2 separate regions of the Homo sapiens genome follow, and region 1 is linked to region 2. The links are contacts of gene promoters, found by promoter capture Hi-C in blood cells and fetal thymus (Javierre and others, 2016). All regions are on one chromosome and are shown on one strand. Each heading gives the region's core, a stretch centred on a gene start or on the middle of the fragment in contact. The rest is flanking DNA. Distances are from core to core; before and after follow the strand shown. Region 1 has its middle 52 kb from the start of KCNH2. Region 2 holds the start of DRC11L (dynein regulatory complex subunit 11 like).

Region 1 (3,429 bases), core at 900-3,399, 280 kb before region 2:
ATCTGGGTGACAAGGTGTCCCCACAAACTCACAAACCCAAATTATGAATGTGTCCGGGCAAACTGCTGATAGCTTCAAGAGCAGCGTGATGTAAACAGTTGTGTAGGAAAGAGGAAGAGCAGGAAAAACAGCTGGGCCTCTGCTGGGCCCGGGGATCATAACAGCACAGCCCGTCTGGTGCGTGTCCAGGGACTCCCTGCAGGCCTGTCGGAGCGCAGCTGCCAGCACCGGGCAAGGGGTGTGTAGGTGCCGAGTCAGAGGTGAGAACAAGGGGACCTCAGTAAGATGGAACTGTGCTGGAGTGACCTGGACCCTGGGAATTCAGCACACTGACACACCACAGCTGCCTTCTGAGTCCAAATCTTGCACTGGGGAAAAACTGCTGAGAAAAGAATGTGAATTGATTGGGTTGGGGTCAATGGGGACAAAGAGAAGACAAGGCCCAGTTTAAAGTGAGGAGGAGATCAAAGGAGAGAGAGTGCTCAGAATGTGGGGTTCGTATCTTCTAACCCCGAGTGAAAGAACAGAAATCAGACTCTAGAGTCATAAAGTCCAAAAAAAGTTATCCTAGCCCAACCTTCTTCCCTAAAAGTACAGAAAATTCATTTTACTTAAGCATGAGCAGTGGGAAATAATTTCACATAAATATCATTCTAAGTTAATTTGAGAAAAAAGCGATGAGGAGCCAAATACTATCCTGCAGACAATGAAGGCTCACCAACCAGAATGACTTGGCCAAAGCACAAACCAACACTGGCCCTTCATAGTTCAAAATGAACAAAAATACACAAAGTGATGGATGCTATGAAGACCAGCATGAGTCAGAAGTAGAAAAGATCCAAAATAAGGAAATAAAACAATAGTATGAAAAGACAGAAGAGACTCAGATGTGAAATAAAAATTATTTTAGAAATGAAGTCTAAGTTAGAAGAACTGTCGGTGCAAATAGACACAGTGGATAATGTCTTAAATGAAATAAAGGATGAAAAAAGAAAAAAGTTTTAGTTAAAAGGTATGAACAAGGCAATGAAAAGAATACAAGAGAAAGTAACAGGAGGTGGACTAAGAAGATGAAGTATTCATATAATAAAAATCCCCAAGAAGAAAACAAAAGCCACAGAACAGAATAATATGGAAAACTAAATTTAGAATTTTCCTGAAATAAAGATACTTAAAACTGCATACTGTAATGGATATGGAAGCATATTGTACAATAGGAAAGTCGTCACAGGATCACCAACAGGGACATATGCTTGTGGGACTACACACTTTGAAAAGAAAAAAATCTTTGGATGTCCAGTTTAACAGACCAAGTTACTTATGGAAGGAAGTGGAGGAAAGATTAGGTTGCATTTAGATTTTTCAATGGCCATGCTTTATGCCAGAAGACAGTGAAGTAAAATATTTTAAGTACTCAAGGAAAGACAATGTGAGCCAAGACAACCTTTAAGTGGAAAGGCTATTGACAGATCTTAGTTATGTCTGCAAATGTTGGAGAACTCAGGGAGTGTCACTCTCATGCACTTTTACTGAAGAATCCACTAAAGAACAAGCTTCAAACAACACAAATGACTGGAAAGCCGTTCATACAAGGACTGGCTGTAAGTTCAGTGCCAAGATGAAACGATAATTATAAGGGCGGTCATGTAGAAGGTGAGGGCTGTGTTCTGACACTGTAGATAGATTACAACAGTCAAAAATCCAGGAGGGAGCCCAGCATGGTGGTGGCACCTGTGTCCCCAGCTACTCGGGAGGCTGAGGCAGGAGGATCACATAAACCCAAGAATTCGAGGCCACAGTGAGTTCTGATCACACGACTGCACTCCAGCCTGGATGACAGAGAGAGACCGCATCCCTTGAGAAAAAGAAAACAGGGGAGAGAGTGGGGAAAGTAGATAAAAAGTAAAACAAGCTTGCTGGTTGCCTTATAGGTAGAAACAGAAATTCAAAGAGTATCGCTTCAGAATATATGCTGGAGCAGACAAGGGAGGGAGAAGATATTACTAACCAATTTTAATCTTGCTTGAAGTAGGGAACTAATACAAAATAACCACAACTAGGAAGCTAAAAGTGTCATATAAAGGTATTAGAATAAAGGTATTTATTAGAACAAAAATTCAAACCTTCTAAATACCAAAAGAAAGCTAAAAAAATTGATCACATTGATATATCGATATAGACATAGATATGTGCATACAATGATATGTATAATAAAACAATGTGACAACTGGGGTCAAACACATAGATCAGATCAATCAATATAATGGGGCTTAACTCAGCTGTTAGAAGAAAAAGGTATCCATATTGGCAAAAAAGGAAAAATCCAATATTATACTATATATCAGAGGCAATACTAATACAAAGAGATTGCAAAAGTTTAAAAATAAAAGCTTATCAAAATGTTCAGTATAATTGAAAGATACAACAGGCAAATAAAAATTAAAAGAAATTATGAGTCACCATCTTGATATCCAACAAGGCAGGATTCAGACCAGAGAGCATTAAATGAGACACAGAAGGAGGCTACAGAATCCCAAAGTCTGCAATCATGATGGAGATCTAACAGTAGGTGCCACTTATATGGCAGTGGCTTAGCAACAACTGTCATGAAGCAGAAAATATAAGAGATGACAGGAGAAATATACAGAAACATGTTGTTTTAAAAAAAAATAAGAATATTTAACACACCTGTCTCAATCCAAGACAAATCAACTAGATAAATAGATAAATAGATGATAGAGATAGATAGATGATAGATAGATAGATAGATAGATAGATAGATAGATAGATAGATAGATAGATAGAAGAGAGAGATGAGAGAGATAGATGGATGATTGATTGATAGATACAAAGAAAATTGATAGATGATGGATGATTGATAGATATAAGATAGATAGATAGATACATAGATACATAGATAACAGAGATAGAAAGGTGATTGATAGATGATAGGTAGATAATTGATAGATGATAGATACATAGATAGATTAGATAGATGATAGATAGATAGATAGTATGTAGAAAACAAAATCATTAAAGTAGATATTATAGGTAAATTAAGCAATGAGGGTGGATGCCGTGATGTGTCACCCAGATTGTCTTTCTGAAATAAATGTCATAATCCCTACCTATGATGGAAAGTGCCACCAGAGGATGGCCCTCTGCTGTCCGCCCTCCCATGGATTTGCCTTGGCAGGAAAAAAACTGCCTCACCAAAGGTCACACCTCCTTCCGGAGCAGCCCACACTCAGTGATGGATTAACACGGGGATAGAACAGCCAGGCCCATCATTCCTACGCAGCCTCTCTGAAGGGCCCTGCCAGCCCTAGAGGTCACTGTGGGCTCAGCTGGGCTCTCTGTTGAGGTTGAGTCACAGGCGGACTTGTCCCTCTACCCAGTCCTCCCTCTTCTCCCTCCTTCCAGTCTCTG
Region 2 (3,750 bases), core at 694-3,193:
AAGTCTGAGCCATCTGGCCGATCCGTTACCATTTTTAGGGGCTTACACACCCCCAGCACTGTTTTCCTCCATTTTAGAGTCCTGACTAAACTTAAAGGGTAATGGGGCAGATACCCCCAAGAGCCACTCCTCTCTTCCTCTGCCCCCATCCTCTGGCTGGAGTTGAATTCTGGAGGCTCATGGTAGGTGGCAGTGGTCTCAGACCTGGTTGTGCATCACAATCAACTGGGAAGCTCTTAAATGCAGATTCCTAGGTCCTCCTCAGACTACTACATCAGAATGACAGGACCTGGGGAATCTTCCCTGCGCCCCCACCCCCGACCAAGTGCACTGCTGCAGCTGGTTGGGGAAACTTTGAGATAGTCTTGGATATGAAGCAGTTACTGAACCCTGAGCCGGACTGGAGGCGCCGCAGAAGCTCTGTGCTCTAGAACAGCCTTCTAGAACTTGCCCGTGCACACAGATCACTGGAGGGTCTTGATAAAAATGCAGGTGCAGATTTAGTGAGTTAGGGATTCAGAGTTTCTCATTTGTGATGTCAATGCTGCTGGTCCAGGGACCACACTTTGAGGAGGCTCTAAAGGACTCTCCTCACCAATTCCCTGCGGTTCGTGGGTCTTCCCAGTCATGCAGGGGACCTCACCCTGACTCCATCCAACCTCTAAGTACCTCCATGCACACCCCCCACCGCCAAGGTTCCTGAAGCCCTTCCTACAAGGCCAAACCCCATCCTCTGATCTTCTCTGCCCTCCTTCCTTTCCTAGCAGTTGTCCCAACACCAGGGATATCCGTGGGGTGGCGGGTAGGCAGGGGTGGTCGGCCCCATCCCTACCCCACCCGACCCCAAGCTGGCCAGGGCGTGGCTCTGTGTCCCAGGTGGTCAAGGCCGGTCCCACCCCACCTCTCCCCTCCCGCTAGCTGGCTGGGGGCGTGGCTTCGCGGCTGCGCACACGTACTGGGGTGAGCTTGAAATCCTGCAGCACGCGGTCCAGGCAGTGGTTCTCACACAGGTCGGCGCGCACCAGCTCGTCCTTGAGCTCCAGCACGCGGCCCGCCACGCCGTCCAGCAGGCGTCGCAGCAGCCGCCGCTTCTGCGGCTGCACCATCTGGTCATAGACGGTGTCGAAGCGGCGCAGCAGCCCCAGGTAGTGCAGGTAGAGCGATGCGAGCCTGTACTGGAAGGACTGCCGCTCCCGGTCGGGCGCAGGTTCGAGCAGAAGCTGCTCTTGGTCCAGCAGCTCCTGCAGGGTCGCGTGGGAGGACTCCCAGAGGCGCTGGTAAGCTCTGGGGAGAGGGTGGCGGGCGCCGCGTGCTCTGAGCCACGGAGGAGTGGGGAGACGGAGCAGCCTGGCCTTTTGAGGAGTGTGGGCTCGGGGTACCAGAAGGTGTGATGTCACTCATGGCTCCTAAATGGACTTCAATGAGGTAAGGAGCCCGCAGGGCAATGAGTGGACACCGACCTGGTCTTAGGGAGAGTGTGGGATTGGGCTCCGCTGTAGGATTAGCAGAGAGAATGGGCATGACCTTTGGGGGTTTGGGGGAAAGCCAGCCCAGGCTTGGGGCTCTGGTAAGGAAGGGGTCTTTGGGAGTCAGGGGCAGTGGGGCCCTCCAGGTGTGGGGCAGCCCACGGATGCTGCAGTGATCTGGGCTGGTGGATGGGAAGTGGGGGTGAGGGATGAATGTGGAGGAGGGACCCTTCCCCAAGCAGAGCCCTGGTTCTGGAATTAACCATCGGAGGGAAGTTTCCACAGTGAAAGCTGCCAGGGCAGCAGCAGCAGCTGGGGTGGCCCAGTGCCCAAACCGCCACTCTGCCCCTGCCTCTCAGGACTAAGGAGATGCTCTGCCCTTTGCTGTCTCTGCCCTGGGAGCCCCACTCCAGCCCCTCACTCACCCCTCAGACATTGTGTCCACTCCTCCACGCTGCCCCTTGTTTGCTGGTGGTGGAATTCACAGAACCTCTGTGGCTCCCTGACTTCCAGGGCCACAGGGCAGAACAGCCTGTTTTTAAGAGTTCTGACCCATTGTACCAGTGTTCTAGGGCTGAGGCGAGGGGGCTGGTGGGTGCAGAATCGGGGACATTTATCTCGGAGGACGTCCTGGGAGCAGCGCGCTGAAGGGACTGTGGGTGGGTGGCTGCAGGCTCCCGCAGAGCAAGCTTTGGAAGCTTAGGGCAGAACATGTTGTCCAACTTTGGCCATTTTTCTTGTAAGGAACAAGTAAAATAAGTTTCTATTTGAAGTCCCCTGAAAGCTTTGGCGCTCTGGATACATCTGTCCTAAAGACATTACCCCCTAACAAGGCATCACCGCAGCTTCTCACTCTCAGCGGCCTCTGTTCCTTCTCTCAGCCCCCGCCTCCTGAGCCCCACAGCCCTCCTTCACTCTCTGGATGACAGCACGGGGAAGCCCATGTGGTGGAGGGGAAAGGCACTGATTTGGAGTCAGAAGGCCCTGAAGTCCCAGTTGCCCCCTTGGGTGAAAGTGAGCATAACCATGCTTTCCTCCCTGGGGCCTGCCAAGAGTTCACACCATTCCCATGAGCCAGACCCGTGTGAAGCATCATGCTAGAAAGTATAGTGGATGCTGTTCTGCATGCTTGGGGCTTACTTGGTCACCTGTGGGTACCACCTCCCGTCACTGCTACAAGTTCAGGAGATAATTTTTCCAAAAAGACAAAATATTATACCACTAGCAGCCTGAGGCTGGTCAGCTGGGGTGAGCTTTTTGGCTCAGTGTCACGTCGAGGCTTATGAATAAGTAAATCTAAGAGGAACAGGGCCAGGGAAACGGACAGAAGGGAGATAGCGGCAAGGAGGAGCAAAGAGGAGGAACTCGAAGGTGCCTATGAGCTACCTGAGGGTCTCATTAAAATGCAGATTCCAGGCTGGGCGCAGTGGCTCATGCCTGTAATCGCAGCACTTTGGGAGGCCAGGGCAGGCGGATCTCCTGAGGTTGGGAGTTCAAGACCAGCCTGGCCAACATGGTGAAACCCCATCTCTACTAAAAATATAAAAATTAGCCAGGCCTGGTGGCACATGCCTGTAATCCCAGCTACTCGGGAGGCTGAGGCAGGACAACCGCTTGAACCTAGGATGGGGAGAGGTTGCAGTGAGCAGAGATGGCACCACTGCACTCCAGCCTGGACAACAAAGCGAAACTCTGTCTCAAAGATAGATAGATAGATAGATAGATAGATAGATAAACAGATTCTGCTCCAGATCTGAGGGGGGACCCAAGAGCCTGCCTTTCTAACAAGCTCCCAGGTGCTTTGGCTCCTGCTGGCCCGGGTCATGCCTGGTAGGGCAAGGTGTGAACACAGGGCAGAGTGGGCAGGAGTGAGACTTTGGGGCCAGATCTCCTGGGCCTGCCTCTTGCTAACTGTGAATGTAAACGTGGATCATTAGTCCTCAGCTCACAGAACCTCAAGGTGAGGCTCGAGGTATGAGAAAATACACGTGACCTAGGTAGCTGCCGCTGAACGTCAGCTATTACTACAAGGCGATGCCTTTTCAATATGTGGAGATGAAGGAGACCACAAGCCAGGTCTGTCCAATTACAAACGGCACAAAGGATTGGAGGTTTGTCTAAATCCCACCCCTTCATCTTGTCCAAGCTTGGAAGAGGATTTATGGGTCATGTGCCCACAAGATAAGCAGAGGCTGCATGAGACAGGAAAAGCAAGTGGTTAAGTGGTGAGCAGTAAATCTAGGTAAGGACATAGGCGTGGCCGTGGTGCTTCTTGCAGTTTTTC

What was found. The method cuts DNA at HindIII sites, captures the fragments that hold promoters and counts their contacts. A CHiCAGO score of 5 or more calls a contact.
Region 1: a fragment that was not itself captured here is called in contact with the fragment with the promoter of DRC11L in region 2 in 1 of 17 cell types (M1 macrophages); the score reaches 6.3 in M1 macrophages.

Annotation. Positions count from the first base shown.
Region 1 is chr7:150,924,468-150,927,896 of GRCh38, forward strand. No RefSeq gene overlaps it. Among named protein-coding and RNA genes, the nearest start is that of KCNH2, 52 kb to the right of the region's middle. The HindIII fragment of the contact is 478 bases long and covers 1,911-2,388 here.
Region 2 is chr7:151,203,553-151,207,302 of GRCh38, forward strand. It overlaps DRC11L (dynein regulatory complex subunit 11 like), which reads right to left and starts at 1,944. Exons shown (of 19, transcript NM_001304419.2): 1 at 1,892-1,944; 2 at 957-1,284. The coding sequence starts at 1,902. The HindIII fragment of the contact is 18,375 bases long and covers 1-2,153 here.